Regions from separate parts of the Homo sapiens genome. Here regions 1, 2 and 3 are each linked to region 4. The links are contacts of gene promoters, found by promoter capture Hi-C in blood cells and fetal thymus (Javierre and others, 2016). All regions are on one chromosome and are shown on one strand. The core of a region is centred on a gene start or on the middle of the fragment in contact, and the rest is flanking DNA. Distances in the headings are between cores, read along the strand shown. Region 1 overlaps TCFL5 (transcription factor like 5). Region 2 overlaps COL9A3 (collagen type IX alpha 3 chain). Region 3 holds the start of MRGBP (MRG domain binding protein). Region 4 holds the start of SLCO4A1-AS1 (SLCO4A1 antisense RNA 1).

Region 1 (2,762 bases), core at 93-2,592, 190 kb before region 4:
TATAGTTTTTTATTTTCCTTATGTTATACTCGATGAGTGAGGCAGTCATCTAACATCTGCCGAAAGCCTTTGGATAGGTGGCTGCTAATAGGAGGACCCTATTAGGGCTGCCAGGGAGAGGCTGTAAGGTGATTCGGAAAGTTTGGAAATAAAGTCACTGCTGAAGGCACTGCTGCGCTAACCTGCATAGTCCCTTCCTCCCTGGGAAACACCTGCGTAGCCCCTTCCTCCCTGGGAAACACCTGCGTAGCCCCTTCCTCCCTGGGAAACACCTGCGTAGCCCCTTCCTCCCTGGGAAACACCTGCGTAGCCCCTTCCTCCCTGGGAAACACCTGCGTAGCCCCTTCCTCCCTGGGAAACACCTGCGTAGCCCCTTCCTCCCTGGGAAACACCTGCATAGCCCCTTCCTCCCTGGGAAACACCTGCGTAGCCCCTTCCTCCCTGGGAAACTGATTTGTGAAGTGACCCGAAAAAAGAACACTCCTTACACTTAGCTTTCCAAGAGTTGGTGAAGACAAGATGGGGAGGAAGAGCTACCGCCTTCTCCCATGTCAGTCCTTCCTTTTCCTCCCTATAAAATTTTATGCCAAAGTATATGTTCACATTTGTAAGATACAAAGATGAGTATTAAAGCAGCCTCTGTGCCGACTACTCAGGTTAAGGAATAAAATATCACCAAAACGACCGAATTCCTCTCTCTCCTGCTGAAAGCTTCATCATCCTTCTGAAATGGGTGCTTTGTGTGGCATACGCGTGCACATGAGCACGCCTGCCAGTCACGTGCCTGTGGTCCTTTGATGGATACAGTTCCACTGACGCACACGTGGCATAGCCTGTCACGCAGCAGAAAAGCTCGGACGCTACTTCTTCCTGCTTTGGGGAGGAGAGCCACTTCTGCGGCGAGGGCACACACACACGCTGCTGCAGTTTTGTTCTGAGCATTGCAGTAAAAATACTGTCATATTAGAATAATTGTTTTTTTTTCTTGTTCTTAGAATAATTGTATATAAAGAAAATATTTTTGGGAGGAAATATGTCCAGGTGGTTTGTTGTTGTTGTTTTTTTTTTTCCATTCTGACCTTTAGAAAAAGTAAACAACTTCTTGTTTTCTGTATTCATAGATAACACCTGTTAATTAAAAAGAGGGGCTTTGGATGAGGTCATATTGGTTGCATAGCACTTGGAAAACGTATTTAGTGTGATGATTGATTCTTGTTCAGTTTCGTTGTATAAAATAGGCTTGGGCTTCATGGTCCCTGCTGATGCTGAAAAACTGCATTAGTACATCTCTTTGTGTTTCGGTTCTCTGTGCTGCTTACCCAATAATGTTTATATCTTGGATTGAAAAGGCCAAAACTGTATTCAGCATTAATTGAGATAAGAATACAAAATTAAAAACCACTTTTTTCTTCTTTCGCAAAGAAGCAGCGCTATGCAAACAAGCACTGAAGAGGAATCGGAGTAGAATGCGTCAGTTGGACACAAATGTAGAGCGAAGAGCCCTTGGAGAGATTCAGAATGTGGGCGAAGGTGCCACCGCCACACAAGGCGCTTGGCAGTCCTCGGAGTCCTCACAGGCAAACCTGGGGGAGCAGGCCCAGAGTGGGCCCCAGGGAGGAAGGTCTCAACGTAGGGAGAGGCATAACCGAATGGAAAGAGATAGAAGGTAATACGTGTGACTGCTTGTCAGGCTGACTCATATATGATTACCTTAGTCATACATGGTTATCACAGATGAGTGATCCTTAGCCGTTTCTGCGTTCAGAGGGAATAAAGCAGGTAGGAGCATCGTTAGCTTTCCCAGATGGATCAAGGATCCCCCAGACTATGCCCAGGCTCGCTGGCTCACTAGGAGGACTCCCGGGACTCCGCATGCAGTCACTCTCAGGCTGTGACTTACTATGGAGAAAGGATGCCAGGTGCGATCAGCAAAGGCGCGTGGGGAGAAGGCAGGAGCTGAGGTGCAAGCTTCTAAGAGCGCGCCCTGTGGAGTCAGGCAGGTTGCCCCTCATGCCCCCAGCCATGTGGTCTGAAAACGTGGGTGAGGTGTTGCCAACCAGGAAAGCTCGCTAGAGACCAGGGGCGTGTCACGTAGGCACTGCCCCCATGCATGCAACCACAGTCCAGTCTCCCAGAAGGAAAGCAGTTGTTCAGTGTCAGCCATATCGTTTGCACAGTGTAGGTTCTGGGGGCACTCTTAACTCCCTGAATCTAGGTTTGCAGACTCCACTAAGGGCCAGCCCTGACTGCAGGCCTTTCTGAGGAGAGTGGTCAGGCTGTTTTGGTAACTGCTGCTTACCAGCCAGCTTGAGTTCAGCAAGTTTTGCCTGGTTCTTTTTTTTTTTTTTTTTTTTTGAGACGGAGTCTTGCTCTGTCGCCCAGGCTGGAGTGCAGTGGCGCGATCTCTGCTCACTGGAAGCTCCGCCTCCCGGGTTCATGCCGTTCTCCTGCCTCAGCCTCCTGAGTAGCTGGGACTACAGGCGCCTGCCACCACACCTGGCTAATTTTTTTGTATTTTTTAGTAGAGACGGGGTTTCAGCATGTTAGCCAGGATGGTCTTGATCTCCTGACCTCGTGATCTGCCCGCCTCGGCCTCCCAAAGTGCTGGGATTACAGGTGTGAGCCACCGCTCCTGGCTATTGCCTGGTTCTTTTAAGATTGCTGGGAAGGAAGAGGTTAAAATTGTTATTTAAGTGGTTTTGTCTGTAGATTTTATTTGTGGTATCCTTCTTTGTAGAATTAAGAGTGGTTAATTTTTTTCT
Region 2 (2,700 bases), core at 135-2,634, 170 kb before region 4:
TGGGGTCAAACACTCACCTCTGGGCCCGGGGTCTCCCAGCTCCCCAGTGGGACCGCGGTATCCAGGGGGTCCTCGAGCGCCAGGGTGACCAATGGAGCCTGGGGGTCCTGGGGGCCCAGGGGGGCCAGCTGGACCGGGCCGACCAATGGACCCGGGTGCCAAAGGCTTCCTTAGGTGCGCGGCTAACTGTGCAATTTGTTCTTTGGGAAAACAAGGGTGCAGGCGTTTACTCGAGAGAGGATCATCAGAAGTATTGTTACGTAAAGCATAAAATATCTACACGGTGCTGTCTTCCAGAAGCAAGTTTTCCTTCTGATTGATGGAAAATGGTTTAACTGCTTTGGGGTGATGAATGCTGGAGCTAGAAAGGACCCCCAACCCCTTGGAGCCTGAGAAGCCTGAGTGGGAAGGTGAAGGAAGTGCCCTTGGGGGTGTTTAGGGACCTGCCCTGCCAGCCACAGGGGCACACTCCGCTGTTCTTGTACCCATTGCATTCAGCAGGCTTTAGGGCGTCTGCTGCGTGCTGGGAATCTGGTTGAATCCGGGGCGGGAGCGTGGGCCATCCTCTAGCGCAGAGGACAGGCAGACGCCAAGGCGGACGTGGACCCCCAAGGGCTAACAGGCGGGGTGAGTGCTAGGGGCTCACTTTGGCTGGAAAGCAGTGGCACGAAGGCTTTCTGTGTAGCCCCAGGCACGGGACCCCCAGGCGGGGATGGGCCCCGCTGCAGCCGGTGCACGTGGCTGACTTACCGCTGATCATCCCCCCACACAGCTCCCTGATGCGCTGCTCGCTGGCCTCCTTCCCCTGGAATTCACCCCACACATTCGTCAGCATGGGGGCGGCAGCCTCGGTGAGGCATTCCCACCGTCACCCCGCAAAGTAACTTCCTTCCGGAAAAAACACGATCTCAACCCTGTGAAAGCTGGAAAAGCCGGAAAAGCGACGTACCGGAACTCCCGGCTTCCCCGTGATGCCAGGAACACCCGGGACGCCCTGCAGGCCCAGAGGACCGGGGGGCCCGGGGACACCCTGAACACCGCTGGTGCCGTTGGGACCCTGGGTGCCTTTGGGGCCCAGCTCCCCTCGACTGCCAGACTGCAGAGGAACAGAGGAAGGTGGGTCAGGGGCGAGCCCAGGAGCCCAGAGCCACCCCGACGTGCTCTTTCCCAGCCGGCACGGAGCCGTCTTGCCCAGCCTTGACCAGAGCAAGCTTTTTTACATCTCGGATCTGGGCAGTGCCCTGCAGGGCTGCCTGGTTGCCCAGAGGTGGGCAGGAAGCCAGCAGGCGCCCATGGATGGTGTCATCGGAACAGTCGCCGGGCACTCACCTCTCCTTTGGGTCCGACCAGGCCGCTGGGACCCTGTGAAGAGAAAAGTTGTGTGTTTGAACTAAGTGTATTGTTGGGTGGGTGGGAAGTAGCCAGTTGAGGATAAAATAAATCAAATCATCCACACACCTGCTATTAGACTACATCCAAATATTGACAGTGGTTCCTTCCGTTCTTCTATATACATTTTTTATATTTCTGTGATTGCACTGATTGATTGAAGCTTTTTAAAAACTTACTTTCCTGGGAAGAGTGACTTTGTTAGCTGCACGGTGCTGTCTCTTACACACGCTTACTTTGCTTCCATTCCTTTTTCTTACTAACACGCCTAATGCTGGGCTGAACCTCTCTGCCCTAAAACCCTGGAACCCCCTCCAGCTGGGTCCTCAGGAATGACTGGCCCCAGGTGCGTCAACACACAGTCAGCCGGGTTAATGTCTCCTCCAAAACACATGCTGCAATTGAACGGCCACTGCACTGCAATGCTATTAAGAGGTGATTAGGTTTGAGAGCTCGGCTCTCCGGAGTAAACTAACACCGTTGTCTCCGCAGTGGGTTCCTCATGAAAAGGATGGGTTGGGCCCCTTTCTCTCTCTGGCACCTCCTCTTGGCCCTTCTGCCTTCCACCATGGAATGACGCAGTGGGGAGGCCCTCGATGGATGCACCCCTCGGTCTTGGGCTTCCCAGCCTCCAGAACTAGGAGCCACATGGATCTCTTTCCCTTGTAAACTACCCAAGCTGCGGTGTTCTGTTACAGCTGCAGAATACAGACTGACACAGTCTAACCGCACAGCAGAGGGACCGACCGGGCCCAGACAGCATGCTCCGCGGAGGCCAGGAGGGTAGGGGGTCACCTCACACAGCCCGACCGTGCGAGTAGCTGAGAGCAAAGCCTTAGGTTTTCCGCCTGCAAGGGGCTCTGCCCCTCACCCCACCAGCAACAGTGGCCACGTAGGGCAGCTTCTGGGATTTCCAGGGTCCATTTGTCAGTGTTGTCTAAGAATTCACTAAATGGGCTGGGCGAGGTGGCTCACGCCTGTAATCCCAGCACTTTGGGAGGCCAAGGCGAGCGGATCACAAGGTCAGGAGTTTGAGACCAGCCCGGCCAACATGGTGAAACCCCATCTCTACTAAATACAAAAATTAGCCGGGTGTGATGGTGGGCACCTGTAGTCCCAGCTACTCGGGAGGCTGAGGCAGGAGAATCGCTTGAACGCAGGAGGCAGAGATTGCAGTGAGCTGAGATCACACCACCGCACTCCAGCCTGGGGACAGAGCAAGACTCCGTCTCAAAAAAAAATAAAAAAAGAATTCACTAAATGAAACACATACAACTGAGGTCTTTTGTCCCCAGGCATAAAAAGTTTACA
Region 3 (2,839 bases), core at 142-2,641, 130 kb before region 4:
TGCTGCCACAGGGCCTGGAACACCCACCTGTCTCTTCTGGCCACCCTGCTTACCTAGTTAACCCGCTCGCCCGTCACACAGTGCCAGCTCCAAGCTCTGCGAGGACTGGAACTCTACTTGTCTGACTCCCACAGAAGTCACCAAATTCACCTTGGTGTGACTCAGATAGGGTCACCCTCTGCCTAAAGCACTTCGGGGGCCTCCCAGGAGGCTGACAATGGCCTAAGGGCCCGGGACTCTGCATCCTTCCCTCCCTCCCCAGGGTCTCAGCTGGAGACTCTGGCCCAGCACCCAGTCTAAAGCAGAGCCCCTGAAAAGCTAGCCAGCTGCTAGCACTGTGTTTGTGCTTTCCATGACAGGCTCTGGAGCCCCGGGATGTCCTCCTTAAGGACGAGCCTCACTGCAGGGGTCTCTGCCCAGGGGACCCCAGCAGGCACGGAGGGGCCTCTGCCCAGCTCAGGCTGACCCTGAGAGCTCACTGCAGACCCCAGCAGGCATGGAGGGGCCTCTACTCTGCCCAGCAGACCCCAGCAGACATGGAGGGGCCTCTGCCCAGCTCAGGCTGACTCTCAGAGAGCGGTGTGCGGGTTCGTGCCCCCATCGGGCGGCACAGGGAGGGCGGTTGGGCTCACCAGCGCCTGCATGTCGTACATGGTGCTCAGATGGTCCCAGATGACCTTGGATGGGACCTGCCGCCCGATGTTCTGGCTGAACTTGTCCCGAATACAAATCATGTGGAAGTGTCGGTTCACACCTGAGGGGAGGAGGGGCGGCGGGATAACCGGTGAGCGGTGAGGAGAAAGGGGATGGAGGGGACGGGCTGCCCTGGGGACTGGAGGGGCAAGGGTGGCTGCGGAGAGATGGGGAGGGCCAGGGTGTGGAGGGGCTGTGGGGGGGCAGGGCTGGGTGGTGTGTGTGGGAGGGGGTGGGCTGTCCCGGGGCGGGGGTGGGGGTGGGGCACTGCGGGCTGGGACCTCGCGGTCTCACGGGGGTAGGGGTCGTGGGCGGGGTCCGGGGCGGGGTCCGAAGGGCGCGTGGGAGGGGGCGGGGGTCCCGGGACGGGTGTGGCGGCGGTGTCACGGCCCGGGCTCGGCGGGGAGCGTGGGGGCGAGGGTGTCGCGAGCGCAGGCCCCGCCCCGCCCCGCCGGTTGCCCGCCCCGCCCCCACGCGCGTCCGCAGCCTGGGCGCTCACCGACGGGCTTGTGGCCCAGCATGGCGTGGAAGAGGCACACCTCCACCTCGGGGCTCCACACCACTGTCTCCTCCGCCGGGCTGGTGGCCGCCTCCCCCGGGCCCTTGTCGCCTGCGGCGCCCCCGCCGCCCACCTCGGCCTCTCCCATGGCCGCGGCCCGGCCGAGCAAGGAGCCCCCGGCGGGAGCAGGCGCGGCCACGAGCTCCGCGCAGGCGCACTCGGGGGCGGGCGCGCGCTCCGCCGGGTACGCGCTCGGGCTCACGCGCCGGCGTCGGCGCAGGCGCAGCCGAGGTCTCGGGTCCCTTCCCGCCGGGGACTCCGCCCTGCTCCGCCCCGCGCGGGGGTTCTTAAAACGTGTTCCTCTTTAAAGCACAGTAAGAAATACACTGCACCCAAACAAAAAAGTCTGTGCTTCAAAGGAAACCATCAGAAAAGTGAAAAGACGACCCACAGATGAGAGAAAATATTTGCAAATCCTATATCTGATAATGAACTTCCTTGTAGAAGGTATAAATAATTCTTATAACTCGATAATAAAAAGACAATCTAACTATAAAACGGCTAAGGATTTGGATACACATTTTTCCAAAGAAGATGTACAGATGGGCCGGGCGCGGTGGCTCACGCCTGTAATCCCAGCACTTTGGGGGGCCGAGGCGGGCGGATCACCTGAGGTCAGGAGTTCGAGACAAGCCTGGCCAACATCGTATAACCCCGTCTCTACTAAAAATACAAAAAAAGTAGCCGGGCGTAGTGGCGGGCGCCTGTAATCCCAGTTACTCGGGAGGCTGAGGCAGGAGAATCGCTTGAACCCGGGAGGCAGTGAGCCGAGATCGCGCCATTGCAATCCAGCCTGGGCAACAAGAGCGAAACTCCGACTCGAAAAAAAAAAAAAGATGTACAGATATGGCTAATGAGCACCATCGGTCACGCGAAACTAGAATCAGCCCGCGTGGGGACCCCCTGCCCCGCCGAGACCGCCACAACCACGCGGCCGGGGTGACGAGTGCTGCGAGGGTCAGGGCTCGGGACCCTCGTGCGGTCGTGCTGTGCGGTCAGATGGGCCGCTGCTGCGAAAGACAGTCTGGCCGTTCCTTCAACGATGGAACCGTCTCCCTAGGAAGCAGCAGCTCCGTGGCGGGCGCCCGCGGCAGTGGAACAAGACACAGGTTCAGGCTGGGACCCGCAGCCGCGAGGCAAGCGCCGCCCCCAACCCGGGGCTGAACCTGCGAGGGGCGCCCGGAGCGCGGGCACCCGCACGGCGCAGCCGCGTTCAGCCTAAAAGCAGCGAGCGCGGACTGCGGCAGCGTGGGTGCGGGCTGAGACGAAAGTCAGAGAATTCAGACACGAAAATACACAGCATGGGAATCCATTCACAGGAAGAGCCAGAACTGGCAACTCCATAGGAATAGAAAGTAGATGCACGGTTGCCGGGGACGGGGGAGGGGGAGGGAAACGCGAGTCACTGCGGATGGGGACCGGCTTCTTTTTTGTTTGTTTTTGAGGCAGAGTCTCGCTCTGTTGCCCGGGCTGGGGTGCAATGGCACGATCTCGCCTCACTGCAACCTCTGCCTCTTGGGTTCAAGCGATTCTACTGCCTCAGACTCCCGGGTAGCTGGGACTACAGGCGCTCACCACGGCCGGCTA
Region 4 (2,785 bases), core at 57-2,556:
CAGCGGCTCCACTCACCTTCTGGCCGTCCACATTCGTCTCCGTGGCTGCAGGGCACCCTGCGTGGCACAGTGAGAAGTACATGAGGCCGTCCGAGCCGCACACAGGGCTGTAGTGTTCTGGCTGGCAGCTGCAGGCAGCGTTGCAGGGAGCCGTTAGGTTCAGGTGGCCTTCGGGCAGGAGGCTGCAGAGGGGGGACAAGCGAGTGGTAGGGTCCAGGCCAGAGCCATGCTGGCGCCCAGCAGGCACAGGGTCAGCCATGGGGCTCGTCCCCATGCAGCCTGCATTTCGGGTCTACAAACTTGCCAAGCTTGCACCGCCCCCAGCACGCTGGGCACTCACACTGGGCACTGCCTTCTGGTGATAGAATGGTTTTTCCTCCTCACGCAAGGAAGGCACACCCATGCCCCCCAGCACCGTCCGCCTGATGCACAGCCCCTTTCCCTAGTTCATTTGTTTTTGGACAGGCAACACATTCATATGGATCAAATACAAACATTAGGAAAGAAAAAGCGCCAAGTACACAAAGGCAGCCTCGTGGCCCCAGCCCCACCCCAGTCCTCGGTTCTCCAGCCACAGGCCGGCTGTGCATTTGCAGGGGTCGTCTGCACGTACACGCCCCTCGGCAGTCACAAACATCTGCACTTCTCACTTGAATCAGAGCACACTGCGCCCATTGTCCAACTCCTTCCTTTTTCCCACTTCACAGTATGTCTTGGCAGTGGCCCAGGATGAGCTTCCTCCACTCCTTTGTGGGCAGGGCCTCTGTTGTGAGGACAGCGTAGTGACCCCGTCCACCCTGATGACTCTTAGGTTCCGATAATGCCACAACGGCTGCTTTGTGCTTCTCGGCCTTGCACGGCACCTGCAGGTGCACTCCCGGGGCCCGCAGGGCAGGGCCGAGGTGCAGGCTACCTACGTGTATTTTGGATATTCCCTAATTGCCACCTGACCAGCAGGTGTCCCTCCCACTCCCAGCACATGGCAACTCCAGGAGCACATCCTGGGACACTTTTTATGTCACCGAGAGACCAGCCTCAAGGACCCCGAACACTAGGGCTGTTGTTCCATTTGACACAGCTACAGAGCAGAGTGCTGAGGCCCAGAGAGGCATATGACTGCCCGGGGGCACAGCCGGGACCCAAGCGCAGGCACTGCTGGGGGCTGGCATGGTGCCTTTTCACGTGGATGCTGCCGGGTGCCCTGCTGAGCGGGTGTTGCCCTTGCCGCTGTCCTGTGACGTAGCCCTTTTCAAAACCACCTCTCCCAAGTGCTGCACCACTCCTCCTCCATGCCCAGGGACCGCGGGTGCTTGGGGCCCCGACGCGTACCCAGGTGCCATCTGGCCCTCACCTCCCGCCGTAGCTGGCTGTGACGCCCGCCATGGGCACACTGGGGCAGTGCAGTGAGAAGACGAGGATGCCCAGCAGGCTGACAACGGTGCAGAACAGGCAGAACTTGATGACCGCGGAGCCCCGGAGCCTGAGCTTGTTCACAAAGAAGCCGCCCAGGAAGGTGCCGCCACCACCCGCTGGCACCACCAGGTACCCTGGGGAGAGGGAGGGATTCAGCCAGGGACTCAGGCAGGGGGCCGTGGTGGGAGAGGGTGGTGGATCAGCCGGGTCCACTTTACAGGTGGGGAAACTGAGGCATAGAGGGATCAATTCCTGCCTGCATGGCAGCACTCAACACCACACCTGAGTGCTTAGCTGTTGCGCTGATAGAGCCCTAGGAGGGACCTCTGTCCAGAGCCCACAGCGGGGATGCCTCAGAGGGGAAGGGGAAGGGGAAGGGGAAGGGGAAGGGGGAGCGGGGGGGCGGGGCGGGGCGGGGGGAGGAGGAGAGCCCAGAGTGCTCCAAGGTCAGCGGCCCCTGCCCCAGTGGGAAGCCAATGACTCCTCCACTGACCCCCCTCCAGGGCAGCCACACCCCCTCCTCCCCCAGGGGCCTCTGCCGAGTCCCTGCAGGCTGTGACAAGGACATTTGTCGAAGCCTGAGTGGCCACCAACAGTAAAAAATTGCGATTAGCTGGCATCTAGCTTCTGGGCTGACAAGTGAGGAGGGCACAGGTGAGGGGACAGGTGGAGAGGGGACAGGTTTGGGGGGACAGGTGGGGAGGGGACAGATTTGGGGGGACAGGTGGGGAGGCTCTCCAAGGGGCAGTAGAGCTGACCTCTGGGGGGCTGTTGAGTGTGGGAATGTGGGCTTGTGAGGTCAGCCCAGAGGGGCCAGGCCAGGATGGGCCTGTGGGGGAGGGAGGGGAGCCCTCATCTGATGCCCTCTTCCTGTCCAGATAGTGGACCCTGGAAGGGTAGAGCGCGGTAGATTGGCGGTGGTGGCCCACATGCCTGGCACCTCTGCCATGGCCCAGGGTACTCTGTGAACGCTGGCAGGAGGAGCAGCTCTGAGGAGGGGTCCCCACTTTCTGCAGACCTGCCCAGCCTGGGAAGGCCAGCCTGCCTCTGGCACCGAGAAACCCCCAGCTGCACTGTTCCAGGAGGTCCTGAGGCACCAGTGCCTGGCTCATGGAACAGCCAGGTCCAAACCCTTCCTGCACCAAGTCACAGAAGCCAAGACTAGGTGGCTAGGGGGTGGAGCCCACCGTGGACCCTTCCACCTACGGAGCATGTCCCACAAAGAGGGCAGGACCACCACTCTCCCGGCCTGTGGACAGAGTCGCTCAGCCCCCGTGGCGCTCTCCACACCTGCTCTGGCAGCGGGGGTGGGAGGGCACTCACTGCCATGTGCCCTGTCTGGGTCTTTCTAGAAGATGCCCTTGAAGACTCT

The links. Contacts are between HindIII fragments. The CHiCAGO score rates a contact against its expected background, and 5 or more counts as called.
Region 1: a contact is called between a fragment that was not itself captured here and the fragment with the promoter of SLCO4A1-AS1 in region 4, in 2 of 17 cell types (neutrophils and monocytes). The highest score is 7.4, in neutrophils.
Region 2: a contact is called between a fragment that was not itself captured here and the fragment with the promoter of SLCO4A1-AS1 in region 4, in 2 of 17 cell types (monocytes and neutrophils). The highest score is 6.0, in monocytes.
Region 3: a contact is called between the fragment with the promoter of MRGBP here and the fragment with the promoter of SLCO4A1-AS1 in region 4, in 12 of 17 cell types (neutrophils, endothelial precursors, monocytes and 9 more). The highest score is 10.3, in neutrophils.

Annotation. Positions count from the first base shown.
Region 1 is chr20:62,856,299-62,859,060 of GRCh38, reverse strand. TCFL5 (transcription factor like 5) reads left to right here. Exons shown (of 6, transcript NM_006602.4): 4 at 1,423-1,666. Among named protein-coding and RNA genes, the nearest start is that of TCFL5, 4.1 kb to the left of the region's middle. The HindIII fragment of the contact is 1,257 bases long and covers 714-1,970 here.
Region 2 is chr20:62,834,583-62,837,282 of GRCh38, reverse strand. It overlaps COL9A3 (collagen type IX alpha 3 chain), which reads right to left. Exons shown (of 32, transcript NM_001853.4): 27 at 1,330-1,362; 28 at 950-1,096; 29 at 751-805; 30 at 18-200. Among named protein-coding and RNA genes, the nearest start is that of COL9A3, 19 kb to the right of the region's middle. RefSeq lists an enhancer at 295-1,494. The HindIII fragment of the contact is 341 bases long and covers 1,214-1,554 here.
Region 3 is chr20:62,795,025-62,797,863 of GRCh38, reverse strand. It overlaps MRGBP (MRG domain binding protein), which reads right to left and starts at 1,391. Exons shown (of 5, transcript NM_018270.6): 1 at 1,193-1,391; 2 at 633-754. The coding sequence starts at 1,340. RefSeq lists a silencer at 1,085-1,624 and an enhancer at 2,248-2,794. The HindIII fragment of the contact is 13,279 bases long and covers 1-2,839 here.
Region 4 is chr20:62,665,142-62,667,926 of GRCh38, reverse strand. SLCO4A1-AS1 (SLCO4A1 antisense RNA 1) reads left to right here and starts at 1,306. Exons shown (of 4, transcript NR_024470.1): 1 at 1,306-1,542; 2 at 1,917-2,067; 3 at 2,430-2,785. SLCO4A1 (solute carrier organic anion transporter family member 4A1) reads right to left here. Exons shown (of 12, transcript NM_016354.4): 7 at 1,352-1,547; 8 at 17-182. The HindIII fragment of the contact is 12,915 bases long and covers 311-2,785 here.